3 separate regions of the Homo sapiens genome follow, and all the other regions are linked to region 1. The links are contacts of gene promoters, found by promoter capture Hi-C in blood cells and fetal thymus (Javierre and others, 2016). All regions are on one chromosome and are shown on one strand. The core of a region is centred on a gene start or on the middle of the fragment in contact, and the rest is flanking DNA. Distances in the headings are between cores, read along the strand shown.

Region 1 (4,108 bases), core at 1,001-3,500:
CTAGAAATCTTTTAAAACTTTAAAATCCAAATGCTTTACATTCTGTTCCCCCTGCTTTTGTGGTTGTACTGCAGCAATTCTGTGTTTTGGAGCTAGTTAGTAAGCACTTTGAAAACCACTATCACAGTGTTTACCCATTTTGATGAAGCTTTGAGTATCTCGGCTTTGTTTTTTAAAAGCCTATACATGGCATTTTCAGGTGGTCTCCCATCCAATATTAACTGGACCATTCCTGCTTAGCTTCTGAGGTTAGATGAGATCAGGCAGTATGGCCATATATTGGATATCTATGATTTGGCATAGAGGAAGCACTAAAGTACCATTGTACATTTTGGGGATTGATGAGAAAAGAAAACTTTGCCACTATTTTTGTATAAAATAAATCACTGTTAATTGGAGATTGTGGGATTTTGCGATTGGGAGCTAGAGAGTAAAGAGAGATCATTATTTTTATTTTAAATAAATCAATGCTGTTAATTCAGATATCCTATTCAAAAGCTAAGAAAAATTGGAGATTACTATTTATTTCTATCAAGTAACATGAAATAATATTAATTAAGTTTGGTTGATGGGAGGGTTTTCCTCCAGACAATCTGCTAAAGAGGATGTGGCCCATGTCTTGACATCTTGGAATGAAATCCAGAAACTGATAAAATTTTATCATAGTTTTAGTTACTTGTAAAAATTGTTGTGTTAGTAGAAATAAATCTACAAACGCATCCTGGATTTCCACATAGTAATTCGAAGTATTAAAGTAAAAGTGGTGCATCTGGTTGTTCAGGAATTACACTCTTCAGCAATTGAGTGGTGGTGTGATTGTTGGTGTCGTTTGTCCTCACACACCACAGAAGAATGATCTACAAAGCAGATGCTACAGAGGAAATAGGTAGGAGGCAAGGAGGAAAGAAAAGAAGCGTGGTTTACCAATGCAGTCTGAAGAGAAGGGTGAAAGACATCTGAGCCTTTGGCCAAAGAGTTTTGCCAATTCAGGTCTGGCAAAAAGGCATTGTGGGATGTTTGGGGCCCTACAAAGCTGACAGGGCCTCTGCTTTATAGGTCTCATTGGGATGACGTTCATGCATTAAGTGGTTTTGGACTTGAATTTAATCTGTCTTAGAAGGAGGATACATTAACCTTGCTTGAGTCAATGAACTGATGGCTCCAGAGAGCCAGCTGCGGGAGGATGAATTATGGTGTAGACTTGAAAAGTTATCCGACCCACGGCCCGTGGGCTGCATGCGGCCAGGATGGCTTTGAATGTGACCCAACACAGGTGTGTAAACATTATGATATATATAATATATATATATTATATAGTATTTCATTATGGGACTAGGCCATATATATTAGCTGATGAGCAAATATATATGTTATATTATATATTATATATATTATATATATATTATATGTTATATGTTATATATATGTTATATATAACATTATGTTATATGTTATATATATATGTTATATTATATATATTAGCTCATCAGCTATAGTTAGTATTAGGGTATTTTATGTGTGGCCCAAGACAATTCTTCTTCTTCTAATGTGGCCCAGGGAAGCCAAAAGATTGGACACCCCTAGAGGAAGAACCCAGAAGATGGGGAAAGGGGCTGGCTGGAGTCCTAATGCCAGTGCTGCTGACTGCTGGCTGTGTGGCCTGGGCAAGTTCCTTACTCAATCTGTGCTCACTTGCATGTTATATAAAACAAGGAGCTTGATATTGAACTCTGAAACAGTGATTTTGAGGTCATTCCCAAATTTGGGGCATTCTGGTCTCGGGTAGCCTGGCTCTGCAGGGCTGAAGGTTTTGTTTGTTCTGGATGACTGCAGGTACAGTGGCTACAAGCAAAATTTTGTCCTGAAGCTTATGCTTTATGTCCCTGGAGTTCCCCAGGGAGTGCCTATTGACATTAATGCCAAGATTTTTTTTTAAAGCTTATTTTGATATGTTGGTACATTTTATTCCTTCTTAAATTCTAAAACTGTTCATCTGTGTGTACTAGCAGCACATATTCCCTGTGAACCTACTTATCTTTTGAAACTTTAATAGAAAGGAATGCTATCAGTCAGTATTTGAGGTTGATAGGCATTCTGATAAAAAGGAGTTACTTTTGTTCTTGATCTGATTTTTAAGTAATCAAGAAACAATAAAGTTATGCTAACATAATCATCAGGAAACTATCTATAAATAAACTTTGAAATTTGATTTCATGAAGTATGATTGTTAGGCAACTTTATCCTTTACCTTTTCACCATTGGAATTAAAGTATTTACAATCCCCAGAAAATCATATTCTTTCTATAACAGCGTGATACATTATTTATTAAAAACAAGCCATGCTAGTATAGTATCTAACAGTTCTATTGAAGAGATGCTTATTTATTTGAGAAATTTGGAAAACAGTGTGTCTTTACTTGCTTATGTAAAAATGACTAACTGATTAATCATGGGTTTTTAAACTGGTATAGATCCAGAAATGTTTCTTATGAAAAATTCTAGCTTTGCCTGCAAGTTCTTCTTGATCTAACTCTACATATAGAGGAATGGCCAGAAGCTTGTTCAGACCCCTCAGTGTTCCCAAAAGATATCAATTTTGTATCAGCTCATTTAATCACTGATGCCTATGAATATACTTTAACTACCAATCAGGCATATTTGTGTTTCAGGTCACTGCCTAGAAGTACCTGTTGCTCGATTCTTAAAAACTCTTATCAGTTTGAAACAGAGGTGAGCAAACCTTTTCTGCAAAGGGCCAGGTAGTAAATACTTTTGGCTTTCCCATTCATATGTCCTCTGTTGCAACTATTTGACTCTGTTGTTGTTTAGTACAAAAGCAGCCATAGACAATATGTAAATGAATGAACGTGGCTGTGTTTCAAGAACATTTTATTTATGGAGACTGAAATTTGAATTTCATATGTGTCACAAATCATTATTCTTCTTTTGATTTTTTTAACTATTAAAAAATACCAAAACATTTCTTATTTTGTGGGCAGTATGAAAACAGGTGGTAAGGTAAATCTGGCCTGCAGGCCGTAGTTTGCTAGATCCTTGTTTAGAAAATTGAAATTATAAAGAAATGTTTGAAAGACACAACTGATAATTTGTGGTTGGGTATTAAATGTTCACCTGTTTTCCCCTTTTCCTGGGTACATACCTTTAGATTATACCACCAGTCTCCCTCATAGTTAGGACTGGCCATTTGACCAAGTTCTTTTTTTCTTTTGAGACAGAGTCTTGCTCTGTTGCCCAGGCTGGAGTGCAGTGGTGCGATCTCGGCTCACCACAACCTCTGCCTCCTGGGTTCAAGTGATTTTCCTGCCTTAGCCTCCTGAGTAGCATGTGCCACCATGCCTGGCTAATTTTTGTATTTTTAGTAGAGACAGGGTTTCACTATGTTGGCCAGGCTGGTCTCAAACTCCTCCCAAAGGGCTAGGATTACAGGCTTGAGCCACTGTGCCTGGACTCATCTGACCAAGTTCTAGCCACTGGCATGTGGGCAGAAGTGATGTGTTGTTGCTTCCAGGTCTGGCCTATAAAAACCTCCCATGCATGGTCCTCTATGTTCTGTTCTTGTGTGTAGAATATGGAGGGACCTCAAGAAGGAAGGAGGTTGGTGTTTTGGTTTTACATGAGTGAGAAATAAACTTCTATTGTGTTGAGACACTGAGAGTTTCAGAGTTTTTGGTTAGAGCAGCCAGTGTTATCTTAAATAATATGTCATTACTTTTACCAGATATTTTTGGTTTGATTCTTACACTAAATTGGACTCTCAAAGATTGCATATTTGGATGGACTTGTTTTTCTTCTCCTCTCCTCTTCATTTTCTCCTTTTTCTTTTTCTTTTTTTTTTTTTTTGAAATGGAGTTTCACTCTGTTACCCAGGCTGGAATGCAGTGGTGCGATCTTGGCTCACTTCAACCTCCGCCTCCCAGGTTCAAGCGATTCTCCTGCCTCAGCCTCCTGAGTAGCTGGGATTACAGGCACCCGCCACCAAGCCCAGCTATTTTTTTTTTTTTTTTTGGTGTTTTTAGTAGAGACGCAGTTTCAACATGTTGGTCAGGCTGGTCTTGAACTCCTGACCTCAAATGATCCACCTACCTTG
Region 2 (4,108 bases), core at 431-2,930, 1.1 Mb after region 1:
TCGGATTGAGGCTAAATGTGGGGATGCAGGACCCGCGCCCAGCGCCCAGATTGTCAGGGTCTCTCAGCCGCTTCAGAAGCTCACGGGCGGACCTCCGCGTCCCATCCCCGTCCTCCCTCGCCTCCGCCTGTGTCCGCGAATCTCTCTCCGGCTGGGCCGTTGGCGGGTGGGCACAGTGCTTGGAGGGTCAGGGAAGGGTGGGCGCAACCGCGGGAGATGAGGAGCGGCCTGGAGTGAAGATTGATCTTCGTTAAAATGGTTGCCACCGGCGTCATTATGACTATCAAAGTTGTCGCCAAGAGGCTCAGCCTCCAAGCCCAGGCCGCAGAGAGCTGCTGTAAGGCTGTTCGGCGACTCTCTGCGCCCGGACCCAACGCTGGGAATACCTGTGGCCGCAGGTAAGGGGCTGGGGTTGATGAGGGGAGGAAAGAGAGAAGGAAGAAAAGCAAAGGGGAAGGGAGGGCAGCGGGGAGGTAGGGGAAGAAGGCTGTCTCCTCTTTCCTCTTTTGACCTCGAAATCCAGCGCCTTTGCCGCAAATAATTCTATTTGAGGAGGGAGGGGAAAATCTGGCAACGTGAGCGTGGATTCGGAGCGCCCGTATGGCGCTGTAAATCTCCACTGTGTTTAAAGTTAGCTGTCGAATTCTGCTATCAAATCGTCCAGCCTAGTTCGTTTCCCCTCAGGAAAATGCGTAGGCGAGAAGGCTTTCTATCAGCAGGATTATAAAAGTAAAAAACCGGGGACTTCGAGTTCAGATCTCACTCTGCAGACGGTGTTAGAAAATCAGAGAGGACCTAATGATTTCCGTTTGGAGGCGCGGGCCCAATGCACCTCCGCGGCCACGTAGCAAGAAAGCGCTTTCAAAACTCTAGGATATTTCTATTTCTCTCTCTCTCTCTCTCTCTCTTTCTCTCACTCCGTCTCCCTCTCCCTTTCTCCCTCTCTCCCTCTCTCCCTCTCTTCCGCTCTCTCTCTCTCCCGGGGTGGGAGGAGAGCATTTAGGCTGAGGTGAAGAAATAGGGAGGGAAAGAACTCCGGCGTCCTATTTGTTAAATAAAATACATATTTGGTTCCGAAATCCGAAAGATAAGTAATCCAGATAGGAGAGGCGCAAGGTCTTCTCCTTACGCAACTCTTCCTGCATCCTCCCCCTTATCTCCCCCCACTTATGCCCCCAGCTTGTAAATGGTAAAAAAAAAAAAAAAAAAAAAAAAAAAAACCAAACCTTCCCGAGGACCTACTCTGGAAAGTCAAACCATTATCTATTATTTAATACGTATCTGTGTCCAAGGAAAAATGAAGAAGGCGCTGCATGATTAGGACCTAAGGGGCAACCTAGCAAACTGAGAGCGTAATGATGCCCCTAAATGAAGGGGGAAATGTGCCGCGGCGCGCTCTATTAATCAGACTGTCAATTTCACCCCCGAGGCCAAACCCCCGGGCGAGCAGAACTGGCTCGGAGCGGGCAAAGGACCGGAGCCTTCCTCCTCACTTGTCTCTTCTCGCCTCCTACCTGGATCTATTTGTCTGCTCTGAAGCTGCCTTCATTACCCACTGACAGGAGGGTGTATTTATTTGCTTATAAACCTGTTACAATAAATGATTATTCGAACAGCGTCATTCGTACCTTAATGACGAGCGGGCGCTACTTTTTGATGAATGACATCTCGGGATCGGAAGGATGTATGGGTCATTTTGACCAGTCATTCCCTCGCTCTGGCATCCCACAATTTTTCCGCCTCCCTCCGAAAGCGATAATAATATTTAGAGGCGTTCGCTGGGGCTGAATGAGAATTAGCCCTAGGCGCAGCCTATCATTAGGACGGGACAGCAGGGCCACTGTGACATTTTTAAGAAAGCTGAGATGATGGAAAGAATAAGAAAAGAGATGATTCTGATGGAGAGAGGGCTGCACAGCCCTACGGCGGGCAAGAGATTCTCCAATTTGTCCAACTCGGCTGGCAATGCTGTGCTCGAGGCCCTGGAAAATTCGCAGCACCCGGCTCGCCTAAGCCCGCGCCTGCCGTCTGCCCCCCTGCACAGCGCTCTGGGAGAACTCCCCGCCAAGGGCAAATTCGAAATAGACACTTTGTTCAACCTGCAGCACACGGGCAGCGAAAGCACCGTCTCCTCCGAAATCTCCTCCGCCGCCGAGAGCCGCAAGAAGCCGGGCCATTATTCAGAGGCGGCCGCTGAGGCCGACATGAGCAGCGACGTGGAGGTGGGCTGCTCCGCGCTTCGCTCCCCCGGGGGCCTCGGCGCCGCTCAGCTTAAGGAAAACAATGGCAAAGGTAACCGCGCCGGCCGCACCGCGCTCTCCAGTCCCATCCTCTTTGCTCCTCCGCGGCCCCCGCCAGCCTTTCCCGGTGCCTTTTCCCCTCTCAGACCCTCCACAGGCAAGCTACACCGAGCTAGCACGGGCGGGGGCGGGACGCATGTCTGGGACCGTGCCTTCCAGTTCTGCTCCTTGAGCTTTCCCGCCAGGCTCAGGCCTGCGGAGCCTGGAACACCAGGCCCACCCGCCCTCGCTCCTGAGTCCGAGAAAATGTTTCTGCGCTCGTGTCTAAGAGCCCGAGCGAGCCGGTAGACCCCTAGTCAGCAGCCGAGTTGCTTTTGGGAAAGGTACCCTGGGCAACTACTCTGAACTCCCCTGCCCCTGTGCCCTCAGGGCTGGAGGGGGCATTCTTCTGGGTAAGTCGGAGGAAGCCTCGCCGGCGTCTCTGTTTAGGTCAGCGGGAGAAAGAGTTGAAAAGTATATTTCACCCCCTATTGGCTTGGGTTTGAGCTACTGCTGTGTTGGAACTCTTAAAATATTTGAAACCCCGAAGACTCAGATAAAGGTTAGAGGCCGTATAAAAAGCTGCCCTGCGGTCTCCAGACCATGGGAAACCCAGAGCTTCCCAAACTGCGCCCAGAGGTAGGCATTTTCCCTCGGCCACTTTTCCTCCTTGGTTGAAAATTTCTAATTATTAAAAAAGAAATCTCCTAATTCCGTTTCTATTATTTGCTTATGAAGGGCTCCCCAAACTTTATTGATTCCATTAACGGCAGCAATTTGTAAGCATGACAGACCCCATCAATTCCGGCAGCGACTCTCCTTCCTGACGGGGCTTCCCCGATCCGCGCGCAGCGCCAGCGCCGGGCTGTTGGTCCTACAGCCACTCATGCGCTGTTGGTCGTTTGTTTGCCAGGGTACGCAGAGAGCGGCTCGGCTGCCGGCACCACGACGTCGGCGTCGGGCTCAGGCCTCGGAAGCCTGCATGGAGGCAGCGGAGGCAGCGGCGGGAGCGCGGCGCTGGGTGGCTCCGGCTCTGGCGCGGATCAAGTGCGGCGCTACCGTACGGCGTTCACCCGCGAGCAGATCGCGCGCCTGGAGAAGGAGTTCTACCGGGAGAACTATGTGTCGCGGCCCCGCCGGTGCGAGCTGGCCGCGGCACTCAACCTGCCCGAAACCACCATCAAGGTATCAATTCCAGTGCATGCCTGCTCTGGCCTCCCCGGGGGCATCTGGGTTGATTGTTTCTTTTTCCCCTTTCCCCTTTCTGGGTGGCTAGATTTAGCTAAGGGTCTGGAAATCCGCGGGGGGTAGTCACCAAAGGAATTGGCTTATTTATTTCCCGGCCACCGAATCCGAACGGTTGTCCGGCCTGACGGATCTAAGAAGGCCCCCGAATGGTGACTCCAATGCTGAAAGCACTCGCCCCTGCTCCATTGTGCCCAACGCCTGGCCAGATGCCCCCTCGCCCATACCCACGGCCCCACTTTCCCCTAGGCGGCAAGCCCAGTTGGTCTTTGTTCCTCAAGCAGGAACCAGAGGTGAAACTTTTCATTTGCTCTTGAGCTTGGAGATTTATTTTCCGCATAAATCGTTACACGGAGAAAAGGATACTGTATCTTTAAAATCGATTGGTTTGAGACAGTAGTTTCCTGAACATTTTCCTCTTGGGCAACGAAAAAAGGGCAACCTCCTGCGGGGAAAAATGCAACGAAATTGTCCTTATTTATATATAACTTTAGGTTATTAATTTTATTATACGTCTGGGAGAGATAGCCGGGAGGTTAGGCGATTTGGTGAGCCCTTCATGGAGCGTTCGACACTGCAGAAAA
Region 3 (4,108 bases), core at 201-2,700, 1.0 Mb after region 1:
AGTGCGGGCGTGGACATGTGTTCACGCCCGGACACACACACACACACACACACACACACACACACACACAGAGCCTGGCACGGAGGTGGGGAAGCAGAGGGCAAGGCAGGCTCTAAACTGGAACCTGAGGGAACAGAGACAAGAGCAGGCCCGCCGGGGCATCTGCTTGACTCCAGCGGCGCGCGTCAGCTAGCGGCTTGGATAAAGTCCAGTGCAAGGATCAAACTCCCCCCACTTCCCCACCCCCCGCCTCTCTCCCTTAAAAGCAGGAGGCTCCGGTGTATGCACTCACACTGGCTTGAAATCTCCCTCCCTCCCTCCCTCCATGGTATCTAGCAACCCCCTGCCCAAAACTGGGAAAAGGCTCTCGACAGCTATTAATGTCCTCCTCGAAGTCTACCTTAAGCCCACCTAAATTGGTTTCCTACCATAAACACACTTTACAACGGCCCAGGAAATCTTATAGGATGTATAAACCTCTTCGAATGCTTATAAAGTAGCACATAAAAAGGCGCAAGCAGAGGGAGGCCTCCGCCCCCCCCCCCTCCCCCGCGGCCCCCGGGCCCACCGCTTGCCCAGTACCCGGTGCCTACCTGCGCTGCTGCTCTTCTCGGCCCCCGCCTCTCCCGGGGGGCCCTCGCCGTCGCCACCGCTGCCTTCTGCTGCCCCCTTGGGCTCCGAGCCAGGGGTCGCCTTGGTGCAGGGACTGCCCCCGCCGCCACCAGCCCCGGTCCTGGGGTCGCCCTTGTCGGCTGCGCCCTCGGGCTGTGGCGGCGCGGGTGGCGGCGGGGGCTGCGGCCCGGCGAACGGGGGCCCGGGCGCTGCCTCGTAGAACTGGTCGAAGCCCTGTGGCAAGATGCCATTGCGGCCCACCGCGCTGTAGAAGTTGGAGGCGGCGCCCGCGGGGCCGTGCGGCGGCCCCGGCGCAGCGCACACCGGCTCAGGCGCCTTGAAGAGCACGTCCGGCCGGCGGCCCGCGGGCGGGAGAAGCTCGCGTTGCATGGCCGCCTCCTCGGCCGCCGCGGCCGCCGCAGCCGCCGCCGCCGCCGCCGCGTAGTAGGGAGCGTAGCCCCCCGCGCCGCCGCCGCCCCCGCCGGGGCCGCCCCCGCTGCTGCCGCCCCCCGCGCTGCCGCCGCCGCCGCCGCCGCGGTACGGCCACTTGGCGCGCTCCAGGCCGTAGTCGCGGAAGGCCACTTCGCGCACGGGCTGGACGTGCGGAGCCAGGTTGGAAGAGTAGGGGAAAGTCATCTGGCAGGACGACGGTTGGGAAAGGAACGAAGGCTTGCTAGCGAAGTCAGACGGGGCCACATAGTAGGCGCAGCCCGGCAGGTACATGCTGGCTGCGCTCTGGCCGCACTCGTCAAAGTCGTTCATGACTCCGCGGCGTGCGCGCCAGCGAGCCTCTGGCCGCTCCCCGCGCAGCCAACCTGAGCCATCGATTGCACAAGAGGCTTGGGCCAGGATCAACTAAGCAAAAATCCCCACCGGGCGCTGACGTGCAATTCATCTTGATTGATTCTGGTGGTAATTATGTCACGTGACGCCATGAAGAGAAATGTCCTTATATCTATATCAACGCTCGCCAACACGCCCCGGGACGGCTCCTGGCGCCGAGACGCGCGCGCTGGGGGCGGATCGGCTGCCCTCTGCCGCCAGCTCTCCCCGGGCGCTCCCTGACCAGGCTGCGCCTCAGGCCGGTCACCTGCGCGCCGCTGGCCGCTGTCACCGCTGGGCGCATCTGCCACCGCCCGAACGGGCCGCCCGCCCGCGTCCGCCCTCCCGCGCCGCTTTAAGTACGCGGACCGAGGCCGGCGGGGAGGAGGAAGGAGGGGGAAGAGGGGGAGGAAGGGGGAAGGGAGAGAAGCAGCGAGCAGAGGGGGGGAAGCCCCGGCTCCAGGCTCCCTAGAAGCTAGGAACTAGGTGTGAGGGTGTGAGGTTCCGAACCCCACCCCCCTTACTGCAGCCGCTCCCTCCCCCGCGACTCTGCCACCCTCTGCAGCTCACCCGCCTGGGAGCTTGTTGCTTCTTGTTCACCGGGCGGGAGTAATTTCGCCACTCTCCAGGGCGCAGGGAGCCCTGATTTACATATTTTTCTGCCCAGCGCGTTCAGAGTGGAGTGACTTGGCTCTTTCCGGTTCTGACCCCAAGGGTGCGAGTGCTGGCCTCGGAAAAACCCAGGCCATTCACCACCTAGGCACTCACCCAGGCCGGGGCCTTCGTGCCCACCCGGCTCTCTTCCCTTCTCTCTGGTTTCCCTCTCTGTTCTTGTCTCTCTTTCTCCTTGCCTCGTTTCTCTTCAGTCTTCTCCCTTCTCTCTCCTGTCTTCACTTCTCTCCTTCCTCTTCTTTTCCGCTTTCCTTCTTCCTTCCTCTTGCTTTCCTGTCTCCCTTCTCCTCTCTCTCTCTGTCCTCTCATCCTCTCCCCTCCTTTCCTCTAAGCTGTGTGTCACTGTCTCTGTCTCTCTCCCCGTTGCCTCTCTGCCTTCTCCTTCAGCACTGAAGCCAGGAGGGGGCTCAGCCCGTGGTCCCCAGCCTCCCTAGAATCTGGGGAGTCTGGTGAACAAAAGGATCTGGAGTCCTACTCTTAGGGTGCTTGGCTTCCCGCTGGCTCCCCACAAGAGACAACCCCCACACACTCGCACCTTCGTCCTCCTCACCCCTCTGCTTTCAGGCCTAGCCTGGGTGTCCGCCTTATACCTAGACCCTTCACTGCTTCGGAGCCCCGCCAAGGCCTGCGAATCCACGCCGCGTTTCCCCGAGGCTCTTCTGGTACCCTTGGGTCTGCATGGTCACTTCAGCCCCTCCCCCAAGATAGGTTGTCTCTCTAAGGGCTCTCAGCGGAGCCTGACTCCCTCCTGGAGCCCCTCTGTGTCACCTGGCTCTGAGGCAGACTCTTCGTGGGGCACCCCATCCACTCCCCCAAGGCCTCACTCTCCTCCCAGCCTGCCGCGACCCTCTCCTAGCCCATGGGTCCAGGCAAGGCCTGGGATCCCACCTCCGAGTGAGCAGACGCTTTTCAAAGGTAAACCGTCTCTTCCCAAACCCAAATCCCAGAACCGAGGGCAGGAGGCTGCCCCTTTCCCCAAGATTCCTCCGCCCAGGCAATCCCAGCGCTGGGGCCTGGGCCTCAGTCCTATACCCAGGGCAGGCGGCGCTGGCTGTGATGCTGGTTCCCTCCCTGGCCCGGGCTGCTGCAGTGCCGGTGCTGTGCGCTCTGCCCACCGTGCGGACAGACAGAGAAAAGGCGGGTGGTCTGAGCTAATATCTATTTTCTGGCTGATGTACCCCCCCTTCCTCTTTTTCTCCTCCCTCCCTTTCTCCCTTCCTCTCTCCTTCCTCCGCCCCTTCCCATGTCTTCTTCCCTCCCCCAACACTGCGCAAATAGGTCTGTGGCGACTGGAGGGCATCGAGCCTCCCCCAACTAGAACTGCCCATCTTGTGTGCTCCCTCCCCGCAGCTGGCACCCCCGCCCAGATTCCAGCTGACATTCTTCTCCTCAACCCAGACCCCCAGCACACTTATCTGCCTCCCCATCTCCATCCCAGGCCCAAGCCTCTCCCTTTCGGGCTCGTGGTCGACGCCCCTGGATCTCTCTCCTAAAATGGCTCCCTGGACGCTGCACACTGGCCCTGCGGTAGCTCAGGACCCAGGGCAGCTGCGAGGACTTCAACCCGGGTCTTTATGTGTCTGGGGATTCGCAAAATTCTCGCACCTTCTCTCTACTGGCGGCACGGGGTGGGGTGCAGGCAGCCCGGCGCCCCCAGTATGGAGCCTGCTGACCGCCGAAGAGGGAAAAGGGGAGGACGAACCATTCAAGTTCAACGACATGGCGACGGCAGCTCCGGCGGGAGCAGCGATTTGGCGGGGGAGGGTGAGCCATCTGCAGTGGCGCGCCGGTGCATAGGGGAAGGGGGCGGCCGGCCCCTTTCGGCTCCTTAGCGCGGACCCTTGCCCCCCGACCCACTCCACAACCCAGAGCGCTTTCATTCCAGTCCCAGCCCGCTTGGCTCTTTGGCCCCAGCTCCCTCCTAGTTCCTACCCCCATTCCCCAAACCCAGGGAAAACCGCAGCCTCCGGACCCGCGCGTCCCGCTCGAGAACCTACCGTGA

What was found. The method cuts DNA at HindIII sites, captures the fragments that hold promoters and counts their contacts. A CHiCAGO score of 5 or more calls a contact.
Region 2: a contact is called between the fragment with the promoter of EVX2 here and a fragment that was not itself captured in region 1, in 1 of 17 cell types (naive CD4 T cells). The highest score is 5.1, in naive CD4 T cells.
Region 3: a contact is called between the fragment with the promoter of HOXD11 here and a fragment that was not itself captured in region 1, in 8 of 17 cell types (total CD8 T cells, naive CD4 T cells, endothelial precursors and 5 more). The highest score is 9.0, in total CD8 T cells.

What each region holds. Positions count from the first base shown.
Region 1 is chr2:177,134,871-177,138,978 of GRCh38, reverse strand. All of the region lies in intron 1 of LOC105373760 (a long non-coding RNA gene), which reads left to right. It also overlaps the pseudogene RNA5SP112. Among named protein-coding and RNA genes, the nearest start is that of MIR4444-1, 76 kb to the left of the region's middle. The HindIII fragment of the contact is 619 bases long and covers 1,941-2,559 here.
Region 2 is chr2:176,081,534-176,085,641 of GRCh38, reverse strand. EVX2 (even-skipped homeobox 2) reads left to right here and starts at 1,680. Exons shown (of 3, transcript NM_001080458.2): 1 at 1,680-2,292; 2 at 3,193-3,464. The coding sequence starts at 1,866. RefSeq lists an enhancer at 2,306-2,921. The HindIII fragment of the contact is 15,744 bases long and covers 1-4,108 here.
Region 3 is chr2:176,104,622-176,108,729 of GRCh38, reverse strand. HOXD11 (homeobox D11) reads right to left here and starts at 1,450. Exons shown (of 2, transcript NM_021192.3): 1 at 594-1,450. The coding sequence starts at 1,374. RefSeq lists an enhancer at 3,594-4,108. The HindIII fragment of the contact is 7,005 bases long and covers 1-4,108 here.